Regions from separate parts of the Homo sapiens genome. Here region 1 is linked to region 2. Evidence: promoter capture Hi-C in human tissues and cell types (Jung and others, 2019). All regions are on one chromosome and are shown on one strand. The core of a region is centred on a gene start or on the middle of the fragment in contact, and the rest is flanking DNA. Distances in the headings are between cores, read along the strand shown. Region 1 holds the start of TNFRSF18 (TNF receptor superfamily member 18). Region 2 holds the start of RNF223 (ring finger protein 223).

What was found. Contacts are between HindIII fragments. The study calls those that stand out against the background at their distance.
Region 1: a contact is called between the fragment with the promoter of TNFRSF18 here and the fragment with the promoter of RNF223 in region 2, in 2 of the 25 tissues and cell types used here (IMR-90 fibroblasts and pancreas).

The regions. Positions count from the first base shown.
Region 1 is chr1:1,204,061-1,209,178 of GRCh38, reverse strand. TNFRSF18 (TNF receptor superfamily member 18) reads left to right here and starts at 2,587. Exons shown (of 5, transcript NM_004195.3): 1 at 2,587-2,794; 2 at 3,687-3,809; 3 at 4,693-4,780; 4 at 4,943-5,118. The coding sequence starts at 2,608. RefSeq lists silencers at 152-261, 842-931, 3,804-4,004 and an enhancer at 128-1,007. The HindIII fragment of the contact is 29,019 bases long and covers 1-5,118 here.
Region 2 is chr1:1,070,502-1,076,016 of GRCh38, reverse strand. It overlaps RNF223 (ring finger protein 223), which reads left to right and starts at 1,711. Exons shown (of 2, transcript NM_001205252.2): 1 at 1,711-2,001; 2 at 3,442-5,050. The coding sequence starts at 3,451. The coding sequence ends at 4,200. RefSeq lists an enhancer at 1,519-2,018. The HindIII fragment of the contact is 34,324 bases long and covers 1-5,515 here.

The sequences.
Region 1 (5,118 bases), core at 1,338-3,837, 130 kb before region 2:
GGGCTGCCCTGGACCCCTCCTGCCTCTGCAGCTGGTTTTCTCCCCTGGGTCTCTCTCTCCTCAAACCTCTGTCTTCCACCCACTCTCTGCTAACCACAAGCCTCCCCCCCCGCAGCATAGGGAAGTCAGAGGCCGTCCTGTCCCCCATCCAGCACCTTCACCGAGTTCCCCGGGTTCCTGCACACGGTTCAGCCTGCAGGCCCTGCACAGGGTTGGGGCCGCGCCTCTGAGAGCCCCCCGCCCCCCGCCCCGTGGGGCAGGCGAGGCCAGACCTCCAGGCAGGATGGCGGGTGGGTGGGGGAAGGGGTCAGGTGGCCGGGACTGGAGCGGCCAGATCCTGTGGGGCCCGCAGGTCGACGGCTATGGGAAAGGGGCCTCCTCCCCAAACCTGGCGCCCATACCCATCGCTTCCTGTCTCCTCCCCTCTGGGCACAGCACCCCCCAGGCCCCGTGGGACTTATTCCCCAGCAGGACCCCTTGCCGCACCCCCAGATGGACACGGGGCCACCTCCTCTTGGTCTCCATGCTCACCCTCCCCGCCCCCTCGCCTGACGCCATCTCTGCTGGCAACTCCTGTGCCATCTGTGCCGAAGGCCCTGCCTGAACTCTGGCTCAGTGCCCATCTGCACCCTCCCCGTGGGGCCTCACAGCTGCCCTTCTGGACGTACGCAAGGGCTGTCCCTCGCCCGGCCCGTGGGCTGCTCTGCTGTGTGAATGCCCCGTCATTTGTGTCACCGGTGAGCTGCTCAATAAGATGAACAAGTCACCTCCAGCCTCGCAGCCCAAGGATAGGAGTCACGGGGAGCCGGGGAGGGGCCTTCTGCGGCGAGAGGGATGGGAGGGTGGACGTCACACCCCTGCAGCCCCTCCGGGGACCACCCTGTGTGGCAAGCTGCTCTCCGGCTGTTCAAAGTGTCAGCTGCGCCACGGGGCGGGGGGGAGGGGCTCCTCTGCCCGCTGGCCGCCTCCCACTTGGCCCCATAAACTGCTCGCTCCTCTAACTCTGTCCCTGCCTCTAGATGGATGACTCACACCGTGTGGTCTGATGAGCATTCTTTATTTTTTGTGATGGAGTCTCGCTCTGTCACCCAGGCTGGAGTGCAATGGTGCCATCTTGGTTCGCCGCAACCTCTGCCTCCCAGGTTCAAGCAATTCTCCTGCCTCAGCCTCCCGAGTAGCTGGGATTACAGGCGTGCGCCACCACGCCTGGCTAATTTTTTTTGTATTTTTAGTAGAGACGGGCTTTCTCCATGTGGGTCAGGCTGGTCTCGAACCCCTGACCTCAGGTGATCCGAGGCCCACCTCGGCCTCCCAAAATGCTGGGATTACGGGCGTGAGCCACTGATGGCGCCTCTTTCTATCCAGGGGCCCAGACCCCCTCCCAGCCTCGGGGCTGAAGATCTCCAGGCCTCTCAAAGGCCCCCAGGCCCAGCTGGCCCCACCCCTTTCCTTCCGAGCGTCGGGGCGGCCTGGAGCTGCAGAGACCCCTTCCTTCTCTGCAGTGTCTGAGGGCTGCCTCTCCAAGGCAGGCTCCTACATCTTGGATTTGAGAACTCCGGGGTGTCACAAACAGCTAATTCCTGTCATTTACCTTGGAAAAGGAGGAACCGCCTTACGGGGTGAGGCGGTGGCTGCAGGTCTCAAAAGGGTGTTGAACCACATCCACGCTCACGTTCCCGAGAGCCCCCACCCCCAGCATTCATGGGGGTCTCCACCTGTGCTGGACGGCGCAGAAGCAGGGCTGGGCAATCCAGGGAGGCTTCCTGGTGGAGGCAGGGTCCCAGAACCCCTCGGTGCCCACAGGGGAAACTGAGGCTCAGAAAGACATAGGACAGTCTCCCAAGAGCTCTGCGAGGGGCTCCTCCTCAACTCCCTCCGGGACCTGGATCTGTCTGGTGTGACGGATGAAGGTGGCTCTGAGAGACCGGGCCCTGGGTGCCCGCGGGGGCGGCTGACACTGTCCCGAGGAGGCGCCAGCACCCTCTCGTCTCCCCACCAGCTCCTCCTGGTGCCCCTCCCAAGCCCCGGGGAACTTCCCAGGTTGGCCTGAGGGGGGTCCTGGAGAGCTGCAAGCAAGGGGGAGGGGAGCCCACAGGCCTGCAGCCCATGGTGAGTTTCACACCTGAAGCCAGCCAGGTGGGGTGTGCTGAGCCGAGGGGTCCCTGTCCCCATTCTGTGGGGTTCCCCAGCACGGGGCTCCATGGTTGAGGCTCTCTGGGGGTGGCCAGAATTTGTGGAGACCTCTCGGGGACTCGCAGATACCACCCGGAGGCAGTGGGATGGAGGAGTGATTGGCTGACCCCCGCCCTCCAAGGGGCCCCCATGGGACAAGGTGCTATAAACGCCGCCCCCTGCACTGGGGACACCAATGTGGCCGCAGACTTTGCATAGAAAACCTTTCTGATCCCCGCCAGCCTGGTTTCCCCGCCCCTGCCGGCGACCTGCGGGGGACCGGGCTGTGTCCGCAGTGTCTACACCCCCTCCTCACACGCACTTCACCTGGGTCGGGATTCTCAGGTCATGAACGGTCCCAGCCACCTCCGGGCAGGGCGGGTGAGGACGGGGACGGGGCGTGTCCAACTGGCTGTGGGCTCTTGAAACCCGAGCATGGCACAGCACGGGGCGATGGGCGCGTTTCGGGCCCTGTGCGGCCTGGCGCTGCTGTGCGCGCTCAGCCTGGGTCAGCGCCCCACCGGGGGTCCCGGGTGCGGCCCTGGGCGCCTCCTGCTTGGGACGGGAACGGACGCGCGCTGCTGCCGGGTTCACACGACGCGCTGCTGCCGCGATTACCCGGGTAAGTAAACCGCGTTTACTTAACGCGGACCGGCCAAGGCGTCCCGCGGAAGCCGGGATGGGTGGGCGCCCCCCTTCCCGTGCTCAGACCGGCGTTGCTGAGGTCTAAGGAGGGTGGGCACAGAGCCGCCAGCAGCGGGAGCCTTCCGGAGGGAGGCAGGATCCCAGAGGGAGGCGGAGGTGTGCCAGCTCCAGCCAGTGGCCCCGGCCGGGAGCAGGGGTGAGCCAGGTGGGAGCGCCCTCAAGAGGGGTCTGGGGTCTGGAGGTGGAGGACGGCTGTTCCAGGTCCTGCTGGGCGGGTCGTGAGCCCTTGGCCATCGCCCAGCCCCCTCCTGCCCAGTTGAGGGCCCCCCTGCACCACCGTCTGGCCTGCTGCCTGCCTCTGACCTGCACCTGGGGATGAGGGTTCAGCTGACACGGCTGGTCTGGAGAGGAAGCTGGCAGGGAAGTCACCCCAGAGCTTCTTCCTCCAGGGCCTGTGGGTTGGGAAGGGAGGCTCTGTCCGGAGGCCCAGTGTGGCTGGTGGTGGGGACAGCAGCGCCCAGACACCAGGCAGGCGGCCTCTGAGGTGTCGACGGGCCTCCAGGGGACTGTGCACTGTTGGGGGCCACCCCTGGGTCCTGCAGGGGCAGCTCCTGGTTGCATATGGAGTTAGCACCTGGGCAGGGGCAGCTGTGGGGCGCAAAGGGGGAGTAGCCAGGCCACATGGCCCCAGGAGAAAGAGACAGCTGGATAAACCCAGGGTCCAGACTCCCAGCCAGGAGCCCTCTGCTCCCTGGAGCCAACTGTGGGTGGAGAACGGACAACCTCACTCCCCTGGAGGGCCGAGGGGAGGCCTGGGGAGGAGGGGGCCTCAGCCCAGCTGCTGGGGGGCTGGCCTGTCTCCTGCCCAGGCGAGGAGTGCTGTTCCGAGTGGGACTGCATGTGTGTCCAGCCTGAATTCCACTGCGGAGACCCTTGCTGCACGACCTGCCGGCACCACCCTTGTCCCCCAGGCCAGGGGGTACAGTCCCAGGGTAAGTCCTGGAGGTGCCTCTGGGAGTCCACACAGGCCAGGGGTTCCACTAGGGCCCGAGGCAGAGCTCGTGGGCACAGGTGTCCGGCGAGGACATGTGGTGTGTGGGGTCCGGAGTCCTGTGAGGCCGGGCAGGCCAGGCCATGCTCAGGCACCACAGGCCATGAAGCTCTGGGGGTGTCCTGTCCCTGCTTTCTCAGCCTGGGCTTCTCCATCCAGCACGAGGGCTGTGAGAACCCTGCGGGGAGGTGGGGGCGGGTTCCAGGAGCTGTCTGGCTCTCAGGCCCGGGACACCCATCCTGTCTGTCCTCACCACATACTGAAAGAGCCTGCCCTGTGCCCCCCGGAGTCCTGTCTGGGGCCTGGGGCTGCACCCTGTTCTGGAAGGAGCAGCTCAAGTCCTCTTAGCGGCTTGTTTACCTGACAGGAGAGGTCAGGCTGGGCACATGAGAGCTGGGAGAAGGTACAACTGGGGAGGTTGTGTCAGGTTGGACGGGGCAGGGTCTGGGGTCAACTGGGACCCAGCCTCACTCTCTCTGGGACCCTCACTGTTCTCCACCCTCTGTTCTACTGGGTCCTGCCTGGCTTCTGCCCACCCTCAGCCCCCAATGGGCAGGCCTTTCCCCTCCCTGGCAGGCCCACTGCACTCTGCGCACCTCCCCCAGGTGCCCTCACTGGGCCCCACCCCAGACGCCCCACCTGGGACGGGCAGACATGGGCCCCAGTCCTGGGCCATGAAGAACTCTGTTGAATGGATGATGGGGGGGGCATTCTACTCAGCACCCAGACCCCAGATGGACCCCTGCACTGGCCTGACGCCCTCCTCATCCATCCCAGCAACTCCACCAGCCTCCCTCCCTCCCTCCCCCCACACCCCACACCAGGGAAATTCAGTTTTGGCTTCCAGTGTATCGACTGTGCCTCGGGGACCTTCTCCGGGGGCCACGAAGGCCACTGCAAACCTTGGACAGAGTGAGTCCTGGGTGGGCCCTGCCGGTGGCCGGGTGGTCCAGGCCCACTCTGAGGAAGGGTCCTCTCCTGTCCCTTGCCCCAGACAGCACGGAGGGCAGCAGCCGGGGGCTGATCGGAGGCCGTGTCCGGGGGCTGATAGGAGGCCGCGTCCATGTATTCCAGCTGCACCCAGTTCGGGTTTCTCACTGTGTTCCCTGGGAACAAGACCCACAACGCTGTGTGCGTCCCAGGGTCCCCGCCGGCAGAGCCGCTTGGGTGGCTGACCGTCGTCCTCCTGGCCGTGGCCGCCTGCGTCCTCCTCCTGACCTCGGCCCAGCTTGGACTGCACATCTGGCAGC
Region 2 (5,515 bases), core at 462-2,961:
CCCCACGGAGTCCCCATAGCCTCAGCCTCCCGCCACGGAGTCCCCATAGCCTCAGCCTCCCGGCACGGAGTCCCCATAGCCTCAGCCTCCCCCCACGGAGTCCCCATAGCCTCAGCCTCCCCCCACAGAGTTCCCATAGCCTCAGCCACCCCGCACGGAGCCCCTCACAGAGCTCCCACCCCTCCCCAGCTCTTGAGTCCCCAGCCCTCCCTGTCTGAAAGCCCAGCCCCAGCCCGCGCCCCGCTCTCTGAGCATCCACCCCTCCCTGTCTGAGCACCCAAATCCGCTCTCTGAACCCCCCTAACCCCCGACTGAGAGTCCTCATGGAACTGGCAGGGGTCCCCCCAACCCCTGACTGAGAGTCCTCATGGAACTGGCAGGGGTCCCCCCAACCCCCGACTGAGAGTCCTCATGGAACTGGCAGGGGTCCGGCCCTTCCTGAGCCCAAGTCCCTGTGCTCCTCCTCGGGGTGTTGCCCCCTGGCCTCTGCAGTCCTGGTTCCCACTTCCCAGCATCCCTTGGGCTCCAGGATGCCCGCGGCAGCCCTGGGGGAGCCTCTGGGTCCCTACTGAGGGGTCGGCGGGCACCTGCATGGGAGTTGCCTGAGGGCAGTCTGTGGGGTGGCCCGGCCAGCTCTCCCACTAGGGTGGGTCCCTCACTCCCAGCCCCACCCAGTGTGGCACCCCCCCAGGCTGGTGTGTGGAGTCCCAGCTCAGGTCCGGCCCAGGCCTCATGGCGGGGATGGGGCTGTGGCAGCCGGGTCGGACCTCCCCTTGCATGAGGTCCACTGGGCTGGGAGAGAGACGCCTCAGTGAGGTGGGGAGCTGGCAGCTGGACAGCCTGGGGGTGCAGCTCTACACCAGGCCCTCGGGCCCACAGCGGGGTGTGCGGGGGACGGGGCAGCCCATGCCACTGGCTGCTCCTCTGAGACCCACACATCCTCCATCCCAGCCCTGCCAGCCTCAGCCCCCAGACTCTCAACCAGCTCCAGCCCTGGTCTTTGCACAGACCAGTCCTGTAGTCTGCTAGGGCATGTGGACATGGCATGTGTGTGTGTGTGGACACAGGGCACGTGTGTGAGAGCATGTGGACATGGCATGTGTGTGAGAGTGTGGACACGGCGTGTGAGTGTGGACACGGCGTGTGTGAGTGTGGACATGGCATATGTGAGCTTCCGGACACGGCACGTGTGTGAGAGCCTGTGGACACGGGGGCATAGAGCGTGTGAACACATGGCCCATGTGTGAGAGCAGCCACGTATGTGTATGGATGAGGCAGGTGAGCACATGGGTGGGTGTGGGCAGGGAAGTGGCAGGAATGGGCTGTGAGGGCAGGCAGCAGTGAGCAAAGGGCAGGGGCAGGCTGGGCATAGGTTGTGGGGGGCTCGGGGAGGGCCCCTGCTAGGAGGCCCACCCAGGAGCTCAGGGGCCACAGGGACCTGGAACTGCGGTGAGCAGCTTCCAGCAGGTGCTCCAGCCTCCTGGGGCTATAGGGAGAGAGGGCTTTGTCCAAGCACACACCCCAGCCCAGACCTGCCCAGGCTGCAGCGGCTGTGCTGACCCCTACCCGGCTCCGACCCTCACCCCTCCCTCCCTGCCCTCCAGCTGCCTGGCCCGCCAAGGAGAGGATGAAGCCAGCCAATCCCTGAGGCTTGCGGCCACACCCTTGGCCCATAGGGTATAAATAGACCTGCTTGGGAGCCCACACCCAGCAACTCACACCTGCCTCAGACCAGAGCTCTGTGCGGGTGACGGCGCACGCATTCCTTGTGTCCCCGCCTGTCTTGGACAGAGCAGAAGCCACACCTGCCAGACCAGTGCCACCGGGACAGCTGCTGGTGGCCGGCCCCGGGGAGGGATACCTGCTGGGTGAAGCACAGGCCGGGCCGGGCCCGGAGAAGAGGAAGCAGACACTGCCACGGCAGGGCAGCCCAGGGCCTTGGAGCCCAACCGTGGCCGGCGAGGAGGACCACGCCCAGGCCCGCTGACCCCCGGCCACCAGGTAAGGCCAGCTCAGCCCGTGTTCACCCCTTACCTGCACAGGCTCAGGGTGGGGCACCATCGTGGAGGGGTGGGGCCTCGTGCCAAGGAACCGGTTCTGTGGGGTACACAGGCCGCAGAGCACAGTCCCCAGGTCCCGGTGCCTGGGGCACTCACGGCCTCACAGTGACGGCGTGTGACTCAGGTGGTCACAGTGACCTGTGTCATCCCGCCAGCCTGTCTGGGACTCACTGGCAAGTCAGGGGTGGGGCGGGGCAGTGCCAGGAGTCACTTCTGGGGCAGCCTCCTGGGCCCCACGGGGACGCACGGCCAGGCCCTTGAGTCTCACTGTCACCCTTGCCCACTTCCCTCCAGGTGGGACCCCTGTGGCTCCCTGCAGCGGATCCTGGGTGCAGGGGAGGGGCGGGAGGTGGAGCAGGGTCCCAGGTCAGCTGAGATGCCCACCTGAGCCATGCCCAGGGGCAGAGCAGCATCCCCCAGTGTCCGTCCCCCAGGGTCCCTGCCATGAAGTGGGATTGGGTCAGGGAGAAGAAACACCCACTCAGTGGGCGGCTGAGGGTGCCCTGACCATCACCTGACCATGAGGCAGTGGGCTGGCCCAGAGGGAATGGCTGGGCTTATCCAAGTCCCACCCCCACACTGTGCACATCAGACCCTCAGCAGCTAGACAAGCCGGCCCCGCAGGCCGCAGGTCGTGCCTGACGTGCACCTTCCTCGGGCACTGACCCCTGCCCCTGCCTGGGCCCTCCCTGTCGTCCCAAAGCCCCCGGGGCTCAGCCCGGTCCCCAGACCCAGAGACCCCCACACCCCACCCTCACATAGCTGCCTACAAATCAGGCCTGCACCGCCCAAGCCAGGCACCCATCCTGGGATCTGAGTTCAAACTCACTTCACTTGACTTGGAGTCCCTGGCCTGCCTGAGAGCCGTATCTGCCAGGGTCCAGGGCCCGCCAGCTCCCTTGGGGTGGCCCTGGCCGAGTCACCCATGCTCTGGGCGGCCTTTTCCACACTGTGGCGTTGTGTGAGTCCCGTGATGTGGGCCCAGCCTTGCAGAGCTCCGACATAAACAGTGACGACTGTGGCTATTGTCATCCTCACCATTATTTCTGCCCGGGCAGCAGGGCCAGCCAGGTGGGGCAGGGCCAACAGGAGGTGTCTGCCGAGCGGTCAGTGAGACCCCCCTACACACGGCCTGCATTCCCGGAGCAGGCCTGGGGCCCTGTGGGAGGCTCACCCCGGTGCAGCCATGTGATGGGGTGGAGAGGACAGGATTGCACGTGGGGCAGAATGACCTCCAGGGGCACCGGAGGAACTTTCTGGAGTGGCGCGCAGGAAACAGAGTCCTTCCCTGGGATCTCTGGGGCGAGAGAGGGGAGGGAGAGATAAAACACCACCAGAAAGGGGCGGCCGGTGATTGCTTACCACAGTCCCTGTCCCACAGCTCAGAGACATGTCGTCAGGCCAGCAGGTGTGGCACACGGCTGTGCCACCCCCTCGCCGGAGCAGCTCCATAGCCTCGATGCCCAGGTCCCCCAGCTCGGCCGGCAGCCCCAGGTCCCCTGGCACCCCTGGCTCGGAGAGGGTGGCCTCCCCCCTGGAGTGCTCCATCTGTTTCTCAGGCTATGACAACATCTTCAAGACACCCAAGGAGCTCTCCTGCACCCACGTCTTCTGCCTGGAGTGCCTGGCCCGGCTGGCGGCTGCTCAGCCTGTGGGCCGCCCCGGTGGTGAGGCTGTACCTTGCCCCTTCTGCAGGCAGCCCACGGCCGTGCCGCCCGCCGGAGCCCCCGCGCTGTGCACCAGCCGCCAGCTGCAGGCCCGGATGCCGGCGCATTTGCGGCGTGAGGAGCCTGTGTGGCTGGAGGGCACCAAGCTGTGCTGCCAGCCACTGCCCACCACACCTGGCCGCGAGCCCGGTTTCGTATGCGTGGACGTGGGTTTGAGCAAGCCTGCCGAGCCGCCCGCGCCCGCCCGGGACCCTGCCCCCCGCCGGGGCCGCCTGGCCCGCTGCTGGGCGCGCTGCAGGGACTGGAGGCGCATGGCACTGGTCTCTGCCCTGCTGCTGATGCTCTTCTGTGTGGCACTCTGGCCGGTGCAGTGCGCGCTCAAGACCGGGAACCTGCGCTGCCTGCCCCTGCCCCCCCGGCCCCCGGCCACCAGCACAGCCGCCTCCCCCCTCGGGCCTCTGACTGATAATTAGGGCCAGCAGCCTCTGCCCAGGTCAGCCGCCCTCGCCCAGCTCCATGGGGCGTCCCCCACTGGGGGGCCCAAGGGCACAGCAGCCACTGGAAGTCGGTCCCCGAGGACGCGAAAGGAGCCTGGCATCTCTGAGGACTCCACCGGGGCCCCACCAAGACCAGGCTCCATTTAGCTTGTCCACCCCTCATTCTCCAGGCTGGGTCCTGACGGGGTGGACAAGAGGATCCCCAAAGCCTCCAAGAACCACAGTCTCACCGGGCGCGGTGGCTCACGCCTGTCATCTCAGCACTCTGGAGGGCTGAGGCAGAAAGACCACTTGAGGTCGGGATTTTGACACCAGCCTGGCCAACATGGTGAAACCCCATCTCTACTAAAAATACAAAAATTAACCGGGCATCGTGGTGGGTGCCTCTTAGCTACTGGGGAGGCTGAGGCAGGAGAACTGCTTGAACCGGGGAGGTGGAGGTGGCAGTGAGCCAAGATTGCACCACTGCATCCAGCCTGGGCGACAGAGGGAGACCCTGTCTCAAAACAAAACAAAAAAAAACAGGCTCGTACAGGAAGGGTCCAGGAGAGCAGCTGGTCAGCATCCCCCCCACCCACACACCCTGTGAACTGCCTGCCAGGGAAGCCCCTTGCCAAGAAGGAAGGGGCCTTGCCGTGCTTCCACTCATGCTGACATTTCCCCGCAGGGCTGGTCCTGCCATTGGGTGGGGGTGCTCATCTTGCCCTCGGACTGTGGGGAGAGAGTGGAGGCAGGGCAGCCCCCCAGTGCAAGGTAACCACAGAAACTTCCAGCTACCCCTCCAACCTTGTGAATTGTACCTTTTAAAATAAATTATTTGTATCCATCTTTGGCAAGAGGGCCTCACCCTGGGTGCCCCTGCTGCAGCCTCAACCCAGAGGATACCCTGACAGAATTAGACTCCCAGCAGCCACTGGGACAGGTGGGCCCAAGGTTCTAGGGGGTCCAACTCCCAGCCCCTCTGGCTGCAGACAGGCTGGGGGTTTCTGGAGTTGGCTGGCGACTCAGCAATGTGAGGCTCCCCAGGGAGATGGGGAGAGGCCCAGGACACTTGGGGCAGGGCAGGCTGGACCAGGGGGAGGGCTTCAGCTTGGTTCAGAGCCCGGGGGCTGACAAAGGGGGCCTTTCTCTTCCCCCATCCTCTGCCGTGGCCATACTAGGCCACACCTCCAGGAAGTCACGCCCCATGGCCCTGCTAGGGTCCCTGACTGGAGAACCACAGAACCATGACCCCTGTGGGAACCCAGAAGCAAAGGTAACAGCCAGCGTGCAGCCTGCAGATCCACTGACT